4 separate regions of the Homo sapiens genome follow, and all the other regions are linked to region 4. The links are contacts of gene promoters, found by promoter capture Hi-C in human tissues and cell types (Jung and others, 2019). All regions are on one chromosome and are shown on one strand. Each heading gives the region's core, a stretch centred on a gene start or on the middle of the fragment in contact. The rest is flanking DNA. Distances are from core to core; before and after follow the strand shown.

Region 1 (6,155 bases), core at 264-2,763, 480 kb after region 4:
TGAATTTACATGTTGGCCTGTCTTCCTAGGTTGGGGAAGTTTTCCTAGATAATATCCTGAAGTGTGTTTTCTAGCTTGTTTCCATTCTCCCCATCTCCTTCTGCTACTCCAATCAATCGTAGGTTTGGCCTTTTTATGAAGTCCCATATTTCTTGGAGGCTTTGTTCATTCCTTTTCATTCTTTTTTCTCTATTCTTGTCTGTATATCTTATTTCAGTAAGGTGGTCTTCAAACTCTGATATCCTTTCTTCCACTTGGTCGATTCTGCTGTTGATACTTGTGTATGCTTCACGAAGTTCTCATGCTGTGTTTTTCAGCTCCATCAGGTTGGTTATGTTCTTCTCTAAGCTGGTTATTCTAGTTAGCAATTGCTCTAACTTTTTATGAAGGTTCTTAGCTTCTTTCCATTGGGTTAGAACATGCTCCATTAGTTGATCATAATTTTTTTATTACACATCTTCTGAAGTCTACTTCTGTCAATTCATCCCTCTGATCCTCCGTCCAGTTCTGTGCCCTTGATGGAGAGACACTGTGATCATGTGGAGGAAAAGAGGCACTCTGGCCTTTTGGGTTTTCAGCATTTTTTTCATTGATTCTTTCTTATCTTCATGAGTTTGTCTAGTTTTGGTCTTTGAGGCTGCTGACCCTTAGATGGGGTTTTTGTGGGGGCCTTTTTTGTTGTTGTTGTTGTCATTTTCTGCTTCTTTGTTTTTCTTTAAATAGGCCCCTTTTCTGTAGGGCTGCTGCAGTTTGCTGGGGTGAATGGCCCTACTCATCTGATTTGCTCTTATACCTGGAGATGTCACTCAAGGAAGCTGGAAAGCAGCAAAGATGGGTGCCTGCTCCTTTTTCTGGGACCTCTGACCTTGAGGGGCACCAGCCTGATGCCAGTAGGATCACTCCTGTATAGGGTATCTGACAACCCCTGTTGGAGGGTCTCACCCAGTTGGGTGACACAGGGAGCAGGACCCATCTAATGAAGCAATTTGTCCCTTAGTAGAGAGGGTATGTTTCACTGGGGGAAACCCACTTGTCTGGGCTGCCTGGATTACTCAGAACTACCAGGAGGAGAGGCTAAGCCTGCTGGTCCACAGAGACTGCAGCCACCCCTCCCACTAGGGTCTCAGGCCCAGGGAGATCCAAATTCTGTCCCTGAGCCTCTGGCTGGAGTTATTGGAGATCCTGCAGGAAAGCCACTGAGGAAGGATGGGTCAGAGTTAGACCTGAAGAGGCACTCTGGCCGCAGACTGCCACAGCTGGTGTGTTGGGCTGTGGGGACAAGTCATGGGACCAAGCTGTCCAGCCTGCCTGGCTCCAGCAGGGGAAAAGCGCAGCCTGGAACTATAGAAATGGGTGCTGCCCTTCCCCTACCCAGGGGGCTTAGCATGTTAGGCAGTTGCAAGTCCCAGTGCTGGCTGCTGCCCCTCCCACAAGGAGTTCAAATGGCTTAGACATCAGGCAGCTGCAGCCAGTGCTGGCCACCCTTCCTCATGGGAATTGGGTAAGCTTAAGCAGATTCCAGCTGAGAGGCTGTACGAATCTGCGCGTTCCAGGGTTGTGATGCTAGCCCCAGTGGCGTGGGTTTGCAAGTGGAATCTTCTGATCTGTGGGTTGCACAGTTCCATGGAAAAACAACAGTTTCCCTGGCTGGGTAGCACTCTTACTCACCACCTCCCCTGGCTTGGGGGAAGGGGGTTCCCCTTCCCCATGTGGCTCTCAGGTGGGCTGCCACACCACACTGCTCTTCCTTCTCTGTGTGGGTAATGCCAGCCTTCTAGTCAATTTTGATGAGAGAACCTGGATACCTTGGTTGCTGGTGAAGGATTCACATGCTTATGCTTTTTTTCCCATAGGAGCCTCCTACATGGTGCTGCTTCTAGTCGGCCGTCTTGGCCCCACCCCTAGTTTTGCATGGCTGGGAGGCCTCAGGAAACTTAAAATCATGGCGCAAGGCAAAGGGAAAGCAACGCACCTTCTTCACAAGGCAGCAGGAGGGAGCTGGAGTGATTTTCTAAGAATAATTCTGGCCAAACTTTCATGCACTCCCGCAGCCAAACTCCATTTGGATCTATTCAGGCAGGAATCATATTTCAGCTCCTTAACTCTCATAAGTGGAAACTGACACCAACTCATTATAAAACCTAAGTGGAAAAAAAAACCCTTCTCTGCCATTTTTATCTCCTTGTTTATAGATAATTCAACTAATAGGTATTTTTACTTGTCAATATTGACATGGTTGTTTTCAGTTCTGGTTGTAATGATGAAAATCATACTGATTATCACAGGTATTGCTTGCCTCCCACAAGTGCACACCCTGCCTCCCTGCTAGAAGAGTCCCAATTTGTACACTGGATCCACAATTTTCTCCTTTTTTTTTTTTTTTTTTTTAAGAGATGGAGTCTTGCCATGTTGCTCAGGCTGGTCTCAAATTCCTGGGCTAGAGCAATCCTCCCACCCTGGCCTTCCCATGTGCTGGGATTATAGGAGTGAGCCACTGTGGCTGGCAAATAGCCACACTTTTCACATGATCTCACGCTTCAGAAAAGGTAGGCTCCAGCCCCAATCTTAAGGAGGGAATTACAACTGGTCTAGTCATAGGAACATGATTAAATTCTGTCAAGCAAAATGAATGTACGTGGAAGTCTGTGGGGAGAATGGGAAGTTGGAGAGAACCTGGATCCTTGATCAAATCCCTGGGAAATAAAATTTTCCTCATTTCTTTAAACAATTAATATGAATTTTCAGTTCTTGCATCTGAAAAAAAGATCCTAGAAGGCTCACAGAGCCTAACAGAGCCTAATAGATTAGTAAATTGACTACACACTTGTAAGCAGTTTGGCTGGAGCGGGAGGATATTAGGGAATTATGAAATATAATAACATCTTTCTTTCAAACTTGGTAATTCCTTTCAAAACAATGAATACAAAGTATTAAAATATCATTAGAAATTTCCAAAATCTATCTTAACATCTACTGAATTTGATACTTTACAAGGTTGCATTTTAATTTCCTGTAGCAAATTATCATTTTCTTAAATCTTACAAAAATGATATTTTCCCTATACTCTACTATAAGAATTTGTATATACATACATATATACACACACAGACACACATGCATACACCTTTTATACTACTTTGGCATAATATTATGTTAGTTAATATAACAGTAAGTATAAATATAAAAATCTGGCTTCTACTTTGTTGTTAAAATAATACAATTGAAAGGCCTCAAATGAGAATAAGAATATAGCAAATCAGAAATATTATGAGGTTTACAAATATGTAAATTTCATTTATTTTTGAAAAGTTCGGAAGTAAACAATCCTTAGTACCTGTAATGAGCTATTCATAATAAAGGGCAAACACCAAGACCAGTGCCACGTAGGATTCTGCTTCGTGTTTAGCTGCGACCCAGCTGTCCCATGCAATGTCCCAGATCCATCTGCTGGCAATCTGTGAGAGAAATTTTGTAAAGACCAACTTTAGATTGAACATATTAAGAAGTAATTTTCAAATCTACACTAGTTTTTTAAAAATGAATGCATCAGTATCTCAGAAATTATTTTTAAGATGTAATTTGTCTGGTTTTCCCTTTCATAAAGAGCCTGGAGAATGACGCTGCCCCAGCCCATCCTTCTTCTTTACCGGAGGCTGGCCTTTCTCTAAACAGAGAGAGGCTCCCTTAGCTGTGTTTCCAGGGCCAGGAGCAGAAGGCCCCTGGGAATGGGGATGTAGTGGCTCTGCATACAGTATGACTCTGCCATGTAGTCCATGATAAGGAAGTCTTCCCACCCTTTAAAGATTTTCAGCCAAAGAGGTTTGTCAGGGCCTTGCCTTGAAATGAAGAAATGGCAGTAACTATACAAGTAGGCTGTTACGGACAATTCTAACTCCTTTTCTCTGTGTACAAACCCATATGTGATCTGATTCCAGCCCACTTCTTTGTGGAGGATCTAAAATGGCCCCAATTTTTTTTTTTTTTTGAGACATAGTTTCACTCTTATTTCCCAGGCTAGAGTGTAATGGCGTGATCTCGGTTCACTGCAACCTCCACCTCCTGAGTTCAAGTGATTCTCCTGCCTCAGCCTCCTGAGTAGCTGGGATTACAGGTGCCTGCCACCACATCCAGCTAATTTTTGTATTTTTAGTAGAGATGGGGTTTCACCATGTTGACCAAGCTGCTTGAACTCCTGACCTCAGCTGATCCACCCGCATCAGCCTCCCAAAGTGCTGGGATTACAGACATGAGCTACCACGTCTGGCCGAAAAAGGCCCAAATTCTTTATGGCTTCTCCTATTAGGAAGTTGACTTTATGTCCCCACCCTGTGAATAAGTCTTGGCCTTGTGACTTGCTATGAGTTGTAAAATATGACACTGTGAAACTTCCAAGCAAGGCCTTCAGAGGTCTTGTAGCTTCTGCTCTCACACTCGTGGAACACTATGCTGAGACCCCCATGTTATGAAAGCCCACTCAACCTATTGGAGGATGCTGGCTCACATGCAGGAGAACCCAGGTGCCCAGGCCACAGCTAGCCCACCAGTCAGACAAGTGACAGAAGCCATCTTGGACCTGCAGGCCCAGGTAAGTCATTAGAGGGCTACAAGTGCATCAGTGAGACCAGCAGAAAAGCCAAGTAGCTGACCCAGGCTGAGCTGACTCACAGAAAGTAAGCAAATACATGGCTGTTGTTATAAGATACTCAGTTCTGGGGTGGTTTGTTATACAATAATATAAGCTGAAACATTCCCCCACTGCACATCATGCCACTATCTACTAGCTACTAGTCCAGCTACACTTGTTACATATCAAGCACTCCAAGTCATCCCTGCCTCAGGATCTTTGCACTTGAAGTTTTCTCTGCTTGGAACATTCTCCCTTCTCTTTGGTACAGCTGGTTCCTTCTTATCTGAACATCAGAGGGTTCTCCCTTCTCTAAACAATCCCAAGTAGCCACTCTGCTACTCTGTCATATCCCTACCTTAATGTTCTCTTTGTAGCACTTATCATCTACAACGTCCCTATTTCTTAAGTCTGTATGTCATATGTGGTGCAGCTTCTCTTCTCCATGGGAGCCAGGACGGTTCTTTCTTGCTGACTGGCGGTTCTCTCGCCAGTACCCCTCTGCCAGTCCAGGTCCCCCTCCCCATGCTTCATCATGCAGTCCACTCCTCTATGGAACCTCTACAGATTCTTCCAAACACAGCTTTTTCTCTCTTTTCTCTCCAACTCCCACATATTCCTTACCAACTCCTTACATAATTACACAGCCTAGTGATATTATCTCTTTATTAATAAATAATGTTTATAATTACCTTGCTGTTTATTGAGGGCTCTGTGCTGGTGATTATGTTAAGGATTTTAATACAGATAATTTCATTTAATCTTCACAACAGCTCTAGGAAGCCAGTTTTATCATCACCATTTTATAGATGAAGAAACTGTGCCAAGGCCACAGCCAGCAAGTGTGGCAGAGGCAATCTGACTCCAAAACCCAGGCTGTTTACATTATCCCTATCATTTTATTTCCCTGAATTCTAAATTGTGCTGCTTTATCTCCTTAAGTAGAGTAAAATCTCCTTGAGAATCATGGTCCGTGTTTTATCATTCCTTGATTTTCCTTAGTACCTAACACCTATTAGTGCCCAAAATAAATTTACTGGTTAACTTAAATGACATTAAACTGTCAAAATTGATATGATCAAGGAACAGAATAGCAGTGCAATTTAATAAATTAGTAGTACCAAATTGCTACTTCTAGGTTTGTACTTTTCTTTCTTTTTTTTTGAGTCTGTTGCCCAGGCTGGAGTGCAGTGGAGCGAACTCGGGCCACTGCAACCTCTGCTTCCCAGTCTCAAGTGAGTCTCCTGCCTTAGCCTCCCGAGTAGCTGGGAATACAGGCACCCACCACCATGCCCAGCTAATTTTTGTATTTTTAGTAGAGACGGGGTTTCACCATGTTAGCCAGGCTGGTCTCAAACTCCTGACCTCAGGTGATCCACCTGCCTCAGCCTCCCAAACTACTGGGATTACAGGCATGAGCCAACGAACCCAGCTGGTTTGTACTTTTCAAATAATTTACAGTGAAATAAATATACTTAACAACATGATACTTTCCTTCAAAAAGTACCTCAGAATCTATGGCATGCCCTTG
Region 2 (6,286 bases), core at 2,617-5,116, 440 kb after region 4:
ACTCCTTCAAATCAATAGAAAAAAGACAGATAATCCAATAGAAAAAAATGGCAAGAGATTTGAAAACATATATCACAAAAAACAATATCTAAATGGCCAATAAATGTGCTAAACCTCTTTAATAATCACAGAATTACTAATTATAATTAGGTACCACTATGCCCTTTTCGAAAGGCTAAAATAAAAATAAACAAGTGTAGGTGAAGATATGGTTCAACTGAAAGTCACACACCATTAGAAGAAATACAGATTGGTACAACCAATTTGGAAATCTGCTTAGCATTATCTACTGAATATAGACATCCCTCACTATCATGAGGAATTGATTCCAGGAACCCCACATAAACCAAAATCTGTGTACACCCACATCCCACAGTTGGCTGTGTGGACTCCACATATATGAAAAGGTACCCCTCCAAATATGCAGTTTTCATATCCTGAAAATTCTATAGTTTTGACCCACATTGCGTTGAAAAAAATTCATGTATAAGTGAACCAGCACAGTTCAAACCCATGCTGTTCAAGAGTCAACTGCTTATGTATCCTTTACAACTCAGCAATTATGTGTGTGTGCACCAAAAGACATAGGAAAGAATCTAGCAGCCAAAAAACTGAAATACAACAAATGTCTACCAACAGAAGCATGGATAAAGTGTGGTCTACTTACATAAGTAGAATGTAATTCTATTTATCATTCTATAATAAAAAAGGATAAAGTGTCTATTTACATAAGTAGAATGTAATTCTACTTATTACTCTATAATAAAAATGTATTTTTATTTTAGCCTTTCAAAAACGGCACAGTGGTACCTAATAAATCCTAATACTGTGTAGCAATGAAAATGAACAACATGGATGAACCTCATAAACATGCTGATTAATCAAAGAAACCAGCACAAAAAAGTACGTAATGTATAATCACATTTATATAAAGTTCATCACAAGCAAAATTAACCTGTGGTATTAGAAGTCAAGATAGTGTTGCCTTTTGGGGAGGAGAGAAGTGGGCATTGACGGAGAAAAGGCATGATCTAGGGGTGGTTACCTGAACATATTCATTTAGTTATAGTCATTACAACATGCACTTATTATGTGGAACTTTTTTTTTCTAAGTAGTTTATACTTCACCGAAAAAGTGAGAAACGTCAATCTAAACATTCGAATGTAGGAGACTTGATTATGTTAAGATGAACCTTTTCAATCAGTTTCTTACTGAAGAAACTTATTAAATTAATTCCAAATCACTTGTGTTCTAAATATAAAAATATTATAAAATACATGAAAGTAAATTTAAAAATAAAAAAATATATATAATGTTTTTATCAATATTTTTCTCCTATAGTTGGTAGCTGAATCCACAGAGGGTAATGCTGTCCGAACAGCATCAAAGACATGGAGAGACAAGGGCAAGGCCTTCATGACACTGGACATGTAACTCGTTCAATACCTGATGAGAAGGATCCTTAGTGTTCCATATACAAAGTTCAGTTCCATCCAAAGGGAAAGCACAGTCCTGCATGCTGCAAGCAAGCTGAACATGAGACACAGACTCCTTGGATTCAACCAGGTATTTTTCTATAACTATATCACTTAGACAGCCACCATTACTTGAGAAAATGTCTTGGGGATTTTCCATCTTCAATCTGAAAACAAAAAGTACATATAAGATGACTATAGGTATCATATTTAATACAGAAAAAAAGTCTATTACCTACTGATAGTTACTAGTTTGACCACACACATATACCACATCATACCTATTTATTCACCTCTCCTCATCCCAAGAAAAAAGAAGAGAAATTGCCGAAAACTCTGGAGCTTCCACATTCTCAACTGCTCCATTCTTCTCACGGGCTTTCCAGTTAAGCAAACCTTGACTCAAATACCACTATTCCCACTTCACAGAGCCTGCTTAGGCTTCCTCGATCAGCTTCCACAACTGTCAAATGAGAACAGTTACTGAGAGGCAAAGACTAAACAATGATCCATGTGGCATGGGTGCAGCGCTGTGGCACTTAGCGTTCTAAACGTTGGTTACTGAAATGACTAAGACACAAAGTTATTTTCTGAATTGACCACAGCAAATCAGTTGTTAGGAAACTGCAATTGGAACCCGCATCTCCCATAACTAACCTGGGCTTGATTCAACAATTTCACAACACTGTATGTAATTACAGTTAAGCTACCACAGGTTCTATAATCAGTGATTCACTGGCTATGTTTCGTAAAGCATAAACTAATGAAACACTGACAAAGATAAAATGTTTCAGATCTTCATCCAACTTTACACTTAACTTCACAGCATAATCACTTCAGAAACATGTGGGAATGGCACTGGGGTCATCCTTGATTCTGTTGTACCCCACACCCCACTGCAGGCCGGCAATAGATGCACCTGAAGGCACAGACAACAGACCTGCTTAGAAAGTGATGGGCAAGCACCCAAATATCCAGTGGGGTCATGCACGCTGTAGGTATTCAAAGGCCCACCCATGAGGCCCTCACACTGGTCACGTGGATTCAGAGGATCCACCCATGTGGCGCTCATGCTGGTCATGTGGATTCAGAGGATCCACCCATGCGGCCCTCATGCTGGTCATGTGGATTCACAGGATCCACCCGTGAGGCCCTCATGCTGGTCATGTGAATTCAGAGGATCCACCCATGAGGCCCTCATGCTGGTCATGTGGATTCAAAGGATCCACCCATTAGGCCCTCATGCTGGTCATATGGATTCAGAGGATCCAACCATGAGGCCCTCATGCTGGTCATGTGGATTCAAAGGATCCACCCATTAGGCCCTCATGCTGGTCATATGGATTCAGAGGATCCACCCATGAGGCCCTCATGCTGGTCATGTGGATTCAAAGGATACACCCATGCAGCCATCACACTGGTCACGTGGATTCGAAAAATCCACCCGTGTGCTCCTCATGCTGGCCCTGAGAGATTCTGCTAACCCAGCCTCTGCCTTTCTCTTCCTCTTCTCCAGCTCCTCCCTCCACTGCTACTCTATTTACTCTTTCTTCCAGCTCTTACAACACAGCAGGGCTTTTACTGCCTCAGCACGCACACTTTATCTTCATGTTCCATTCCTCCTCATCTCTGCACCTTGGGAGCTCTTCCCATTCTCCAGGTCTCAGCAGAGGCCCCTGAGAGCTGGCTCCCATCCCTGCCCCCCTACCCCATCCACCTCCTTCCCAGCACTTCACACAATCTAAACTATTTTGCCCTTAGGAGGCAGCAGGACATGGATCCATGGCCAGACTGATAGGATGGAATCCTTTGTCTGAAGGACCCTTGATCAGACAGGAATTGCATAGAAAGAAAGAGCACTGTAGGGTGCTACTCATCAGCAGGACCTTCCGCTGCCTGCCTCCCAGCCCCTTGACTGAGAAGTCTGACATTCCAGTGCAAGGTGTGACCGTTCAGTACCACCTCTGTGCTGCGGGCGGGGCAGCAGTAACAATTTCCTGTGTGCAGGGGGGAGCAGAATTTCACAAGAGAAGTGAAGCAAAGGAGAATGGACCACTCGAGATCATCTTCTGAAAATACTTCAAAAGAGGCCGGGCACGGTCGCTCACGCCTGTAATCCCAGCACTTTGGGAGGCCGAGGCGGGCGGATCACGAGGTCAGGAGATCGAGACCATCCTGGCTAACACGGTGAAACCCTGTCTCTACTAAAAATACAAAAAATTAGCAGGGTGTGGTGGCGGGCACCTGTGGTCCCAGCTACTCAAGAGGCTGAGGCAGGAGAATGGCGTGAACCTGGGAGGCAGAGCTTGCAGTGAGCCGAGATCGCGCCACTGCATTCCAGCCTGGGCAACAGAGCGAGACTCTGTCTCAAAAAAATTAAATTAAATTAAATTTTAAAAAAACGTAATTTTTAAAGGCTTGAAAATTCTCAATATTTGGAGAAAAACAAAATAAAAGCATGTGTACATTATTTTAAAGCAAATTTGTCTCCAATTCACAATTTTTATCTCACTTTTTTTTTAATATTTGCAAAGATACTTTGAGTGTCATATGAAAATAGCTACACCTTCCAAAGCTACCACAGTTACTCAGTAGACTCTGTAACTTGAGCATGGCAGTAGGTGCTGGGCAGATGTGTCCTAAGGGAACAATACGAACCTGCTGTCACCAGATCCACTGCTTCCCAAAACATAAAACATCTTCGGAGACAGATGAAGAATACATAAAAAATTATAGTTGTTTCAAAAATGCTAATAATACACTCATCAAATTGTGATTGAGTTCCATCTTTTTCTTCAACATAAACTTTTGTTGTAGTATAATTATCTTATTCTCTTCTGTAATTCCTATAGAATTCAGCAGCATTTTACAAATAATAGTACTTGTATGCCAATTTGCAGTTTACAAACCACTTCTGTAGACATTAATAAGCAGGTTTCTATATATGAGTACATAGATTATCATTATTACAGTGACCCTTTAAAGTGGTTAGGCAAGAAGACGGCAGCTAGGAGACAGGACTAATGTGCATCTCCCACTAGGATGGACTGAAAGGCATGTGGATACTCATACTGTGAAGTTTTGTTCCAAGAACCACTGCAGGAATGTACCAAAAAAAATGAAAGAATTCACAGATCCTTTTAAAGAAGCAGCAGGCCACTGCAAATTCCATGAGACAGGCAAAAAACTGTGAGTTCCCAAAATGTGAGAGGGGGGAAAACTGCCTCCAAACACCCCCACTGGGGAATCTAAAAATCAATATCACAGGAGAAGGATGTAACCTTACCTAGAGCTGAAGCATATTTAGGCAGCCAAGCGAAATATAAAAGTAGAAGCAGCAGTGAGAAGAGCCTTGTAGGCACTCCTAGTCTCCAGCTCCAGTCCAGGGAAGCCATCCCTGACTGTATCTCATAGGGGTCCTCCCTCAGAAAAGACAGCCAGAGGAATTAGGGAGAGGTCATAGGGTGAAAGAAGCTTCCAACTGAATTATGTGATAATTTAGACTGGGCATGAACTTCCTTGAGCAGAATCAGGAGTGGGTAAAAGGGAAGTGCTACAGATATGAGCACAGGAGCTGCCAACACTGTGGACAGATGGGGAGGGGCAAGACCTGAAAGCCAGCCATGCTCGTTTTCTCAGTGCAGAACTTATGGCCATGCTCGTTTTCTCAGTGCAGAACTTATGGCCTGGGGCAGGGCTGAGTCCCACACACAGGCTGTCTGCATCTAAACCTGGTGCTGTTAGCTGGGCACTGTGGGAGCAAGACCAGCTTCACAAACTGCATGGGAGCTGGGTGAGGCCTTTCACTACCGGCTTTCCCCCACTTCCCTGGCAACCTATGTGATGCGTCAGACACAGCCACAATCCCCTCTGGAACATAACTCCATTGGCCCAAGAACCACTCCCACGTCTCCCACAGCAGCTGCAGCAAGCCCTGCCCAGGGAGACTCTGAGCCCAGATCCACCTAACCCTGCCCCCATCTGATGGTTTGTCTCTACCCACCCTGGTAGCCAAACACAAAAGACATAAACTCTTGGGAACCCTAAGGCCCTGCTCATCACCTGAGAAACCAGAATGCCTCCCCTCGCCAACTTAGGGAAAGCTTATATACCCCTTCTAACACAGCAGCTGATATTCTCTCGAAGAACTCCTGAGAAATTCATCACAAAATGATTATGACCTGGGTACAGTCATCTGGTTATCTAAAGTCAGGAAGAATGAAAGAATCTTTAGAGCTGTGAGACAAAAGCATCAGGTAATCTATAAAGGAAAACCTATCAGATTAACAGCTGACTTCTCAGCAGAAAATTTACAAGCCAGTAGGGATTGGGGTCATATCTTTACCCTCCTTAAACAAAATGATTGTCAGCTAAGAATTTTGTATCCAGCAAAATTAAGCTTCACAAATGAAGGAAAGATAAAGTCTTTTTAGACAAATGCTGAGAGAATTTGCCACTACCAAGCTAGCACTACAAGAAATGGTAAAAGGAGTTCTAAATCTTGAAACAAAACCTTGAAATACACCAAAAAAGAACCTCCTTAAAACGTAAATCTCACAGGCCCTTAAACAATAACACAATGAAAAAAGGGTATTTAGGCAGGAACTAACATAATGAATAGAGCAGTACCCCACAGCTCAATACTAACGCTGAATGTAAATGGTCTAAGTGCTCCACTGGAAAGATACAAAATGGCAGAATGGATAAAAATACACCAATCAAGTATCTGGTGTCTTCAAGAGACTCATGTAACACATAAGAACTCACATAAACTTAAGGTAAAGGAGAGGAAAAAGATATTCCACACAAA
Region 3 (6,508 bases), core at 3,613-6,112, 320 kb before region 4:
CAAGGACAAGCTATACAGTGAAGCCACATGAATCCCATTAATGCAGTGCGCACTGTAATCAGATTGCTTTCTAATTCTATCTAATTTTCTTCATTTAACATGGGTTGCAAGAATAGTTATATGTAACTGCAGTCAACCCATAAGATGGAACAGGGTAGTTGCTAAAATAAAGCAACATATCAAGAAGTAAGTTTTGAAATTTTTTTTATTAATTGAAATTGGATGATCACTTTTAACTTTATTCATAAATCTATCAAAACTTTAGACACGTTTTGCTAAGCAAAAAGGTATTTTAATACAATTTTTTTTATTATTATACTTTAAGTTTTAGGGTACATGTGCACAATGTGCAGGTTAGTTACATATGTATACATGTGCCATGCTGGTGTGCTGCACCCATTAACTCATCATTTAGCATTAGGTATATCTCCCAATGCTATCCCTCCTCCCTCCCCCCACCCCACAACAGTCCCCAGAGTGTGATGTTCCCCTTCCTGTGTCCATGTGTTCTCATTGTTCAATTCCCATCTATGAGTGAGAACATGTGGTGTTTGGTTTTTTGTCCTTGTGATAGTTTACTGAGAATGATGATTTCCAATTTCATCCATGTCCCTACAAAGGACATGAACTCATCATTTTTTATGGCTGCATAGTATTCCATGGTGTATATATGCCACATTTTCTTAATCCAGTCTATCATTGTTGGACATTTGGGCTTTTAATACAATTAAACAAATATATATGTACATGTTCACACATGGGTATGGTAAAAAAAAAAAAAAAACTGATCGCTGAATTGCTTTTGTTAAGAAGCCAAACGACTGTACCTCAGTCTCTGGCAGCAGGATCCTGAGCCTGTTCTTGCAGGAGCCTGAGCCTGTTCTTATGATAACAGACAGCTCTGAACACAAATGTGCTGGTCTTCTTCAGCTTCACCCTTTCCAGTTCTCTATCTTCAGTATCTGTCTCGGGACCCACCTGTAACCTCCCTCGTGTCTTCCATTTCCGAAGGCAAGTTCCTTAGGTAGGAACCATCTCTGTGAAAGGGGAGGCTGCAATGGTGCCATGAAGAAAGACTGGGAATGGTTTCCGTGAAAACACAGGCAGGCCGGGCGCCACTTCTGAGTCTGATGTGTTTGACAACATCCTTCCGGTCTCCTTCCATCTTCTGCTCCTTCCTCTTCCCTCTGCCGAATTTTGCTCTTCTGCAGTTCTTGAGGCACATTTTAGGCCCTGACCAATAAAGACGTAAACAAGCACAAGCGGAAAACAAAACTAGCTTAACGAGTTCACTGCTAATTATTGCCTGTTAGCATGAAAAGAATAGCACAATTCTTCACATTTTTGGTTAAGGAAACGTTACCCACACATTCATATGTAAATTGATTCTGACCAAATTGTTTGGAGTGGGAATTTTAGTTTATCTGTGAGCACTGTCTCTCAGGGGCTGAGAATGAGCCCAGCAATGGGAACCATCGCATGCAGGAACACACACCCGCAACACAGACACATGCATGCAAACACAGCAGCACGTACACATGCAACGCTACACACAATGTGCACAATGCACACACACATGCATACAAGCACAGCAACACGTACACATGCGACACCACACACACATACAGTGTGCACAGTGCACACACACGCACACAAGGACAGCAACACAGACACATGTGACACCACACACACATGCACACAAGCACAGCGACACATACACGAGATACAATGCACACACACACATGCGCACACACACATGCACACACACAGCAACACATACACATGTGACACCACACACGCACGCACAGTGTGCATGATGCACACACACGCACGCACAGCAACACGTACACATGTGACACCACGCACAGTGTGCACAGTGCACACACATGCACACACACCCCACACACACTCACATCACAACTAAAAGACTGAAGCATCGTCGAGAGGAAACCTTCCAAAGCCATTGTATCTGCAGTGATATTGCCTATAAATCTCAGTCCATGTATTTAGTATGCAATAACTATCGCTAGCCTTATTATTGAAAATGCTATTTCTTTGTATTTCTGAGCTCAAATTTCACTAAGATTGGGGTAAACCTAACTTTAATTATTCTTCAGATGTATGCCTCAGTTTAGGAGACTTGCACGGGGCCAATAGGTTATTTACCTAGTATTTATATAATGCTCACCCAGTGTCAGGCACTGCTTCAAATGCTTGGTAAATATTAACTCATTTAATCCTTACAATAAATTCAGAGGGATGCGTGGTTTTACAAATGAGGAAGCTTAAGAACAGAGACGTGAAGTAACTTGCCTAAGGCGACATAGCATTAGGAAGGGAGTTGGCATCTGAACTCCTTGCCTGGCTCCAAACCTCATCCTCTCGGTCAGACCTCCTGAGGCCACAACATCTCTCTGCTCGCTTGGCCTTCTAGTTACAACACCCACCAGGCTGGGCCCCAGAACTATTTTGTGAAGGTGTCTGTTGACCCGGTTTTCCTAAACACACCTTATATTCCTGTCTGATGCTTCTTTACTTCACGCCAAGAAGCAAAGGACTGTCTCCAACTGTCTCCAAATGCTTAGACCTCCCCTCCGCACACGGAGGAGGGGTCTCCGTCTGTCATGGTGCTGGCATGCACCGGGGTCCTTTTTCTATCCCAGCCACTTCCAAGATGCCCTTTCCAAGACTTACCTGGTTTACAAACACCGTTCTTTTTTGTCTGAAAACTTCCAAGTTCTCCTGAAAGCCTAGGCTTTGGGAAGACCAATTCTTGATATGCAGCTACTTCTGTGTGAAGAGTGAGAAGAGAAGGAGGCGGTGGCAGGGAGAGGAAAACCCCGTGTGTGTGCACATTCCAAAACACCCACAGCCACAAACGGCAGATCCGATGTTTTATGGTACCTTTTTACTAAATGGTTGTGTTTCTTTCCTTCGTTCTACTGGCCCAAGTCCTAGGTGCTTACCACCATCAGCTGATGAGGAGGGCTCATTGGATGCTGCCGAGATTTGAAACAAGAGTCTTCCAAACCAAGGTTTCAACTGTGAAGTCGTTTCTTGCTTAAAGGGCCAGTGGAATCTCCTTAAAAAGGAATGGAACATCTTAGCACTCTGTATCTTTTGGCTGAGACGTATGCTTCAAAATAAGTGTTTTCCTGTAAACGGGTCCTTACTAAGTGTTGGGGTGAGTGAATATGTGCTCTTGAAATGTGTTATGGTGGAACGAAAGCTTCAGTCACCTGCAGACATTTCCCCGGCGGAGATAAGCTTCTTCCAGTCTGGGCCTGGAGTTTCCCTTACTCCATCGGAAAGGAACCCAGACTGGTGATAATGACAAGTTGGCAGTGTGGCTTTCATGCACCAGGGCCAGTGATGGAAATACTCTCTTACCCGAGGCTCGCAGAATGCTATAAACTTGGGGATGGAGGGGCCACAATGCTGGAGGGAAAAGCATAAAGCAGCCCGGAGACAAGAAACAGACTCGCCAATCAAATGCTGTGCCTTTTCCCTCGGTCCCAGGATGGCTGCCCTCATGATTCTGGTGTAGTCCCTGTCATCCAGCGCCACTGTGCCGGGCTGGCAATGCCAGTGCTCCATATTAGACAGAAGGACAAAGAAAGCTTTTAATTTAGTATCAGAGTAATGAAAACGCCTTCTTCCGCGGATACTGTAACACTGGCAGGGTTTTAAGTAAATGGAATCAGATATTTAAAAAGGATTTGCCGAAAGGAATTAGGAAAGAATGCTTCAAAAACATTTTAAATGCTGCTTAGTAGAGGCTCAGTGTTCACCTAAATCAAAGATGTTTTCCCCATATATTTATTTTAATAATTTAAAATATGTCTACATGTACTAATTACCTATATTTATCTATCTGAATTTTTTCTTCAATGACCAATATACAATGAGTGGTATATACTGCATGTGTACTGTTTTAAAGACATACTGTATATTTAGGAAAAGGGGTTTCACATTTCTGCCACTTTGTGGATCCCTCTGCTTGGCTATCTTTTTAAATTTATAGGCCTTATTTCCCATTAAGACTGGAACACCTTCCAAAATATTTTCTTTTTTTAGACATCTATAATAAGATGAAATAACAGTAGTGGCAAATTCACTGCGCTCTTGAAGCATCTGTTGGAGCTCTCTCTTTGTGGGGGTAAACCAGCCGCCAAACAGATCACCTGCACGGAAAGTCCTTTGCTCATTTTGTGGATCTGAGTTGCTGCCAACTTTTCCGGGTGTTCATGTTCAGAAGGAGAAGCAAGATGGCCCTGTTAAAAAGTCCTACATGGCATTTGTCAAGGATGTTCTGCTCAGGAGAGAGACTGAGGCTTCCGGTGAGAAAACCCTGCAGGCTGGGGAAGTGCACCTCGAGCTGACCCCTTGTTCAGGGAGCTGATGAAGGCACATGCCATGGGAATGAGAAAGCCACTCCTTAAGCATCAGTAACAGAAGGTGCCATGTGGATAATACAGGGGCTGAAAAATCATAAGATTATTTGGGTGTCCCCACCCAAATCTCATCTCGAATTCCCACATGTTGTGGGAGGAATCTGGTGGGAGGTGATTGAATCATGGGGGCAGGTCTCTCCTGGGCTGTTCTTATGATCGTGAGTGGGTCTCATGAGATCTGATGGTTTTAAAAACAGGAGTTTCCCTGCACAAGCTCTCTTCTCTTGTCTGCCACCATGTGAGACATGCCTTTCACATTCCGCCATGATTTTGAGGCCTCCCCAGCCACACAGAACTGGGTCCATTGAACCTCTCTTTTGTAAATTGCCCAGTCTCAGGTATGTCTTTATCAGCAGCATGAAAACACACTAATACAGGTAGGTTCAGACAAAGAGTCATTGGCTCCACATGGTGGCAGCTCCTATGCCTCCTGCCTGAGCTGAGGGTCTGTGGCTGCAGGCCCAGCTCAGGAAAGGAGCTGCTGGAAACTGGAATGATATGAAATAGACCCATCTACAGTTTTTCTGGTCATCTGTTAAAAAAGAATTTAATGCTTACAAGATAACTATCATTGGTAGTAATAGTCTAGGCCCATGACATTCTTTAATATTTGGGAGTATCAGAACTTTAAAGATTAGACTTAGTTATAAATAGAATATTTATTTAGGAACTTAGAGACATCTGGGCATTTCATGTCATGAAAGTAACAAAACCCTCCCTCTTTGCACGGCTCCAGTACAAATCATGACTGCTGTTGGAGAGGCTCTGATACGCTGTGCGTGCAGATGGTGCCCGAGAGCCGGGGAACAGCAGCATCTCACCCGGGCTTTCTCCTTTCCATCTGGCAGGTGCCAGCTTCTAACCACCATCAGCTGCCATGTCCACTGCCATCTGTTTAGCTAATGGACAGGGAGCACCTACTGTGGGCCAAGCCCCCGACAGGCACCAGAGATTGGGTGGAGATAGACAAAACCAAGCACAGACAAATTCAATTAGTTGTTTTCTGGAGGAAAGAAACAAGAACCATGCATGAGAACATCTTGTTCTTGACATCTTCAACCAGACACTGAGGTCGGCTCTCGTCAGCAGCTGGGTCTCCTTGAGGTTCACTGGATGGGGAGGTTGTCTGCATTTCACGTTTTAATTAATTTTTAAAAGTTACTTAGATGAATTATTTCATTGGCTACGTATCATCCTGTGCCAAAAAACAAACTGTGAAGCCCAGCAGCATATATATTTTAAAATGCAGTTACAAAAAAGCATAAATATGAAAACAAAAACAAACAACTAACCATTATTGATTGTGTCATACTAAAACACTGTTTTAATTTTGTGGTATGTTTTGGGGACTTTTTCCAATTTATTCTCTGAAATAATGTTGTATTCAGAGCGTACACCAAGAATAGGAGCCCGTTTTTTATCCATTTAAGATTCTCTCCCGTTTCTATCTATTGCTCATTTGCTGAACCTCTTGTCTCTTTGACTAACAGTATTTAAAGGTCTAATGAAATATTTCAAAGCAGTTATGAATAATGAGGTAATAGATGAGTACAAGCCACTAGCAGAAGACATGAAATGTGGCAAATGCTGCAAAGCAAAGGCTTCACTTCCATCGCTGCCTTCTCCCATTCCTCAAGTTATCACTGACTGCATTGGTGTTTATTCTTCCCAAACATCTATTCGTATTTTACTACAAATGTATGGAGGCTTGTGCAATATTTGATATTGATCTATTTTTTTAATGTGTATAAGGGGAATCTTACATTATACATTTTTCATGACTGGCTTCATATGTTAAACATGTTCCTCATGAGATTAATTCAGGTTGAGGTGTGTAGACACTGTTTATTTATTACCACATCAATGAATGCATTACTATTCACACAGTCCAGTGTTTTCGTAGACGTTTACTTGTTTCCAATATTTCATCCCATTAGACCCTTGTGGAAGGACTTTTTCTACACTGGAAATCTAGGAGTGGAATAGCCGGGCCCCGGAGACACAGGAACACACTAGAAATCTAGGAGTGGAATATTTGGGCCCCGGAGCCACAG
Region 4 (5,893 bases), core at 2,270-4,769:
AAAAAGATCAGGCTTTATCTGTGATGAAATATTATGTGGTCATTAAAAATCATACTGTAGAAAAGTAAACACATGGGAAAATATTTAAAGGAGGAAGAAAGTGGAGCAAAAAGAATTCAACAAACACCAAATACTTGCAGTGTTGTGAACATCCTCTATAGAAAAAAGGATAAACTGTGCAACTCTAGGTGGAATTGCATTTTTCTCTAACACCTGAATTTTCCAAAGATAAATTATCTCATGTCATATTGGCTCAGAAGTAAGTTACTATTTGATTTATAAAGGAGCTAGAAGGTCCTCACGGGTAAGATTGTCCAACCACACACTTTATTTTGTCATCTCTCCCCTTGCAGCTAAGCCATATCTCACAAGCCAGAGAGAGACCACAGGCTCTGAGGACACTCACCTTGCGTGCTGGGCCACACCCACAGAGCCAGCAGGACCAGCCTCCAGACCATCCTGCCTCCTGCAGCTGAGCTCCTGGGAATACAGGAAACCCTTGTTAGTGATGAGTCCACAGCTGCAACCCTGCCTGTGAGCGAGACTGGCCCAGTGACTCACATGACCATTGAATAACAGTTTGCATATAAAACTCAGCACCAACTGGATTTGTGGCAAACTGAGAGCGAAGGAGGAAATTTACTCTTCAAGCAGGATTCTTCTAACTATAAGATTTGTTGAGCTAGCATTTGCCGGCAAGCACTGCACATCACGTTCTAAATATTCCTATTATTTCATCTTCATAATAGCCTGGGAGGTATGTGCTGCTCTAATTGTCCTCATTTTACAGATGAGCAAATGGAAGATGGGCAAGTTCAGCGCTTGCCTGGAGTAATTCTGTTCATACGACTCGTAGACAGGACTTAGATGTAGAAAGTTTGAATTTAGAAAAATATCCAGCCTGACAAAAATAATCTGTGAACGCATTTTGTGTAAATATCCAGCAAAAAACAGTTATGCATAACCTAATTAAATAGAATGAATATCAACTGTAAAAAAAAGTTACAAATAAACTTAATTTGGTGAATTATACTTACAAAACAACAGAACACTTGACTTAGCCATCATTTTGACCCTGCCTCTTTATTTTCCTGCAGGCCTGTTTTTCCATTCTTGGGGATTTTAAGTTGGCACAGCTCAGTGGAGGCTGGCCCCGAAGTCAGGAGATGTGGTCCAAAGCCCGGCTGGGCGATTAACCCTGTGGATCTCAGCTTCTCCTCTTCCGGGCGAGCATGAGCCTGAGGGTCCCAGGGCTCCCCAGGTCCCTTCCAGCAATTGGTCACACCCTGCTCTAGGTTGAAGGGAAGACTGAGACCCCAATTCTTCCCATATTTAGAATATCAAAGGCCGTTAACTTCTCATTGTTAATCCAAGGACTCTCCCTCTCCAGAAACAACATTTGGTAACCTGGAAATCCTCACCTTCCAGGAATAGAGAAACATTCCTCAGAAGAAGAGAAATGCTTGGCAGCACCTGCAGACCCCCCACCCATCTGCTGCTGGGACCCCCCCCCCAAACCATCTGCTCCCCCCAGTGCCGCCCCAGGGGTCCTTGGTGATTGTTTCATCTGTCCTGGCTCCGGAAGCAGCACGGCCTGCGGCCGGAGTCAGCACCAGGCTGAGCAATGCTGAGCACCAGCTGTGCAACCTAGGGAAACTTACTTAACTTCTCTGTCTCAGTTTCCTCATCCGTAGAATGAAACGTAGCGTCATGTAAAATGCCCACCTCATCGGGTTGTCATGAGAGATGAATTCGGCAAATGAAACTTCACCAGGGGCTGACTTAGCCCAGCGAGCCACAGGCATGGGTTACCGGAGCAGAATGTGCCTCTGGGTCTGGGGCGCTTTCTACTCTAACTGCCCGAGGCAGCTGCAGTAATAATGGTGGTGCTGATAGGGCCTTTCTATGGAGCTCTTAAGAGGGTTTAATGACAGGAGCGAACACTTGGCCATGAGCTTAGAACAGTACCTGCATGCAGTAAGCACCACAGAACGGTGTTAGAATACACAGCTCAGGTACAGCCTTGGCAGGCTCTTCCCACCTCCCCACCTCATCAGCCCACACTGCCGGGTACGTCGCAGTCCCCTAAGGACAGCTGTGTGGGGCTGGCCCTGCAGAGGCCAGCCAAGAACAGGATGGTAAATGCGAAAGTTCTGGATGCCCAGCTTCATAAGGACAGGTTAGAAAAACTAAATCAAACTCCTTTGACGAAACCAGATCCTACTGTCTCTGCCTTGAGGTAGATTCTTACAAGAGCAGGAGGCTAACAAAGCATCCCCTGCTGCGGATTGTCAAAGGACAGTGAGGCTCCATCCCACAGGAAGGATGAGCAGCCAGGCTACCTGGCCTCAGCCCATCCAGGGACACCGGGCATGCATGGATGGAGCCACGGATGAGCCAGTGCCGCTCACCCCTGCCCCAGCCTCTGCACGCCACACATCCACGTTTATGCTTGTGTTTTTCCAAAAGAAAGATTTCGGTGCCTGTCTGCAGCAGAATGTAGTTTGAATTTGCAAAGGTCTTTTAAAACTCTTTTCGTATGAACAATCAAAGTAAAAGATAGCTTTGCAGAGAGCTAATTGTTTACCGGCCGTCCACCACCAACAGCAGTCTGATTAAACACCAGACTCCTGGGTGCTCAGCTCCCAGTCCTGGGCAGCCAAACCCACCTTCCTTAAGTGGTAGCCAGGCAACCTGCCAGCTCGCTTTTCATATGCAAACTGCCCCAAGACTGTTAAAAGTCGCTGTGTGTCCCGGCAGTCACAGGATTTTCCATAGACTTACCACAAATACTCTCTAGTTATGTTCAAAACCACTTTTCAGCTGCTAATAATGTTAACAATCAGAGTCTCTCTTTAATCTACTAATAATGTTAACAATCAGAGTCTCTCTTTAATCTACTAATAATGTTAACGATCAGAGTCTCTCTCTAATCTACTAATAATGATGTTAACAATCAGAGTCTCTCTCTAATCTCCAGTTACTTTTCAGATATTCCGGGAGTTGTTTCTAATTCTCTCCTCAATAACAAACTCTCATGTGGAATCTTCTTCTTCGGAAACTGAAAACATAAAGCGTTTACCCGGGTTCCCAGGCAGGTATATACATTGAAATAGCAGCAGCCACAACCCTCAGAGAGGAAGGGGTGCCCGGCTGGTGAAAGCACAGCCACGGAGGAAAAGCTGAGGAGCGGCCACGTGCCTTGCTCTTCAAGCGGGCAGTAGAAACACCACGTGAAGAAACACTTGCCATTTAGTGTTAATAGATACACCACCCACCTTAAGTTAAGAATCGAAATTGCTCCTTTTTCTTCTCCGCTTCTTAGAGTTCGAGAACTCTAATTTCTTAAAATTAGAGCACCATTAAATAATTGATTGAGTTTAAGAAATAATCGTACCTGGTTTGCCAAAAAGATGCAGTGATGACTGGTTTCAGTGTTCCGGACCGAGTCAGAAAGGCGCAGGCTCTGCTGGAGCGAGAGACCGGCCCTGCAGTGCAGGATGCTCCGGTGGACGTGGCCGAGCGGCTCCCGGGCAGCGCGGCTTTATATGCCGCTTCTCCTGTGCAGGGCTGTCAATCAGACACACGAGGAAGCACGTTTAATTCATTCCTTCGAAGGAATGACATCATCCCCCTTCTGATCTCACCATTTGCTCCGAGTACCTGCTGCAGGGGTCCAAGTCCAGCCCCTCTGTACTGGATGCCGTCTCCTCCTCCTGCACCCCGGCCCCTGCCAGACAGGCCTGGGAGGAGCCAGACGGAGAGAGGGAAGGCAGGGACTCACTTTTCCTGTCTTCTCTCAGGAAATAAGATGCTATAAATAACACTAGCAAGATTGGCTAGAACTCCTCATTTTGCTTAAGAGAAAAAAATGCAAGTTCTATGCCTTAAATATGTTTCGAATTACTCAATGTGATATTGGTCTTTCTAAACCAAATGAGTGACTCTCAATAACACATGAAATACATCGGTGAGTATCAATAATCAGTCTGTATATTAATAAAGTTATTATGGTCAATAATCAAGTGTATTATGTGACAAAAATGAAATTTAATATAAAAGGAAGTTGCCAACATTTATCTCAGGCAGTTAGAGGACTGAAAAGCTGTACTGCAGCTTTGGGAAAATTCATTTTTACCCAAATTCTGCTTCATTTGCTCAGTGAGGATCCCCTAGAAGGACGTCTCCCAGTGGACGTGCAATACCCGTAGAAGGGTGTGTCCCAGTGGACGTACAGTACCCGGCCAAGTCCCCTTGGTGCACACTTGCACGTGGCCCCATCACAGGAACAACCTGACGTGCAGGCACAGAGCAAGGACTCGAGAGAACGAGAAGCAGTGGCAGCAGCTAACCCCCGCCCCTCCCACACCTCAGGCATCACCCGCAATCAGGGTGCACTCTGCATGGGGGTGGGGGGCACCGCTTCTCAGAGGTCAGGGTGGACGATGGATGCGGAGGGGCTGCTTCTCCCAGGTCAGGGTATACAGTGGAAAGGGGAAGCTGCTGCTCTAAGGTGGGGGTTGATGGTACATGGGGGAGGGGCTGCTTCTCCCAAGTTGGGCTGGACAGTGGATGGGGGAGGTGCCACTTCTCCCAGGCCAGTGTGAAAGGTGGATGGTGGAGAGGCTGTTTCTCCCAGGTCAGTGTGCAAGGTGGCTGGGGATGTGTTGTTTCTCCCAGGTCAGGGTTAATGGCAGACAGGGGAGCTGCTGCTTCTCCTGGGTTGGGGTGGACCTTGGATGGGGGAGGTGCTACTTCCCCAGGTGGGGTGGATGGTGACTGGGGAGCTGCTGCTTTGCCCGGAGCCACCTGCACCTGCTTCATGTCGGCACCTGCCTGTCAGGTTCCTTCACGTTTGTGTGGAGTTGTCAGCCTGGCCATGGATCCGTCAAGTCCTAGTTAGAGAACATTAAAGCGAATTTCTGTGGACACAACCCTTACTGTGTCTGTGGCAGGGGAGTGTCTCTTAAGCCTCCTGGCATTCCCCCACAGGGGTCCAGCGCTGCAGAGGTCGGCAGGCACCATGAAGAGCAAGCCTCACTTTCTGGCCTCTGTCTTCAGGGAGGATATGCGAGCGGGTGTGGGAGAGGGAAGGAGCTTTCATTTGTGAAAACCTCTGTTTTTCCTAATGGCACCTGTTTATTTATCACTTGGCAAACATCAGTTTCCGACACATGCACAGACAAAAGCCTCCAAGAGTGTATGTGTCATGTTTAAGGTACGTTATTTTGCTTTTTAAGCTATTAGGGACAAAGTCATCATTTGAATTAAAAAGTAGTTTAAATAGATTGATGTTATCTCAAATTCAAAAAAAGTATAAACCAGTTCCCCTTAAAGAATTTTCAGTGGATAATTATCCATTCATCAGTTTGAGTTTTTCTGCCTCCAGGTTAGTTTTTCCTGGGGCCAGAACATGGAGGGCGGCATCCCCTACTCTGCGTGCCACGGCCTCTCCTGTTCCTCAGTCCACAGAATGCGTGTTTCCTGATTAAAGCTGAAGACAGGCAGCTCAGCTGCTCAGCACTTCAGGAGCATGCGGTGAAGACCGTGACACTCACTGGGGAGCAGGAAGGTATGTATTCATGACTCCACGTGCCGATGGGCAGGTACAGAGAAGATGGGCCTCCTTCTGTAAAATCTGGCAGCCCAGAATCAGGGAAGTCTGTTTAGAGGAGACAGAAGGTAAGCCGATTGGAACATGGCCCGTGAATGGGGTGTCCCCAGTTGAGAAAGTATTTCAGGCAGAGAGAGTGGGTAGGTGTTCATGGTGCAAAGAACAGCAGGCTCCTGGTGCGGCACCCAGGCCAGGTGCATGGAATGGGCTTCATAGACGATGGAAGTCACAGAGAGTTTCCTGGCAGGGTGAGGCGGGACTTCATGGGCCCACTGTGCA

Evidence for each region. Contacts are between HindIII fragments. The study calls those that stand out against the background at their distance.
Region 1: a contact is called between a fragment that was not itself captured here and the fragment with the promoter of THBS2 in region 4, in 1 of the 25 tissues and cell types used here (IMR-90 fibroblasts).
Region 2: a fragment that was not itself captured here is called in contact with the fragment with the promoter of THBS2 in region 4 in 1 of the 25 tissues and cell types used here (small bowel).
Region 3: a fragment that was not itself captured here is called in contact with the fragment with the promoter of THBS2 in region 4 in 2 of the 25 tissues and cell types used here (H1 embryonic stem cells and heart left ventricle).

Annotation. Positions count from the first base shown.
Region 1 is chr6:169,736,841-169,742,995 of GRCh38, forward strand. It overlaps DYNLT2 (dynein light chain Tctex-type 2), which reads right to left. Exons shown (of 4, transcript NM_174910.3): 4 at 3,269-3,455. The coding sequence ends at 3,345. Among named protein-coding and RNA genes, the nearest start is that of DYNLT2, 12 kb to the right of the region's middle. The HindIII fragment of the contact is 6,025 bases long and covers 1-4,526 here.
Region 2 is chr6:169,687,370-169,693,655 of GRCh38, forward strand. WDR27 (WD repeat domain 27) reads right to left here. Exons shown (of 26, transcript NM_182552.5): 2 at 1,448-1,643. The coding sequence starts at 1,636. Among named protein-coding and RNA genes, the nearest start is that of WDR27, 12 kb to the right of the region's middle. RefSeq lists an enhancer at 5,258-5,758. The HindIII fragment of the contact is 7,100 bases long and covers 317-6,286 here.
Region 3 is chr6:168,924,763-168,931,270 of GRCh38, forward strand. LOC105378146 (a long non-coding RNA gene) reads right to left here. Exons shown (of 4, transcript NR_136250.1): 4 at 2,979-3,082. Among named protein-coding and RNA genes, the nearest start is that of LINC01615, 230 kb to the right of the region's middle. The HindIII fragment of the contact is 7,573 bases long and covers 1,077-6,508 here.
Region 4 is chr6:169,250,327-169,256,219 of GRCh38, forward strand. THBS2 (thrombospondin 2) reads right to left here and starts at 3,520. Exons shown (of 22, transcript NM_003247.5): 1 at 3,398-3,520; 2 at 407-480. The coding sequence starts at 458. RefSeq lists enhancers at 1,056-1,569, 2,082-2,594, 2,595-3,106. The HindIII fragment of the contact is 15,923 bases long and covers 1-5,893 here.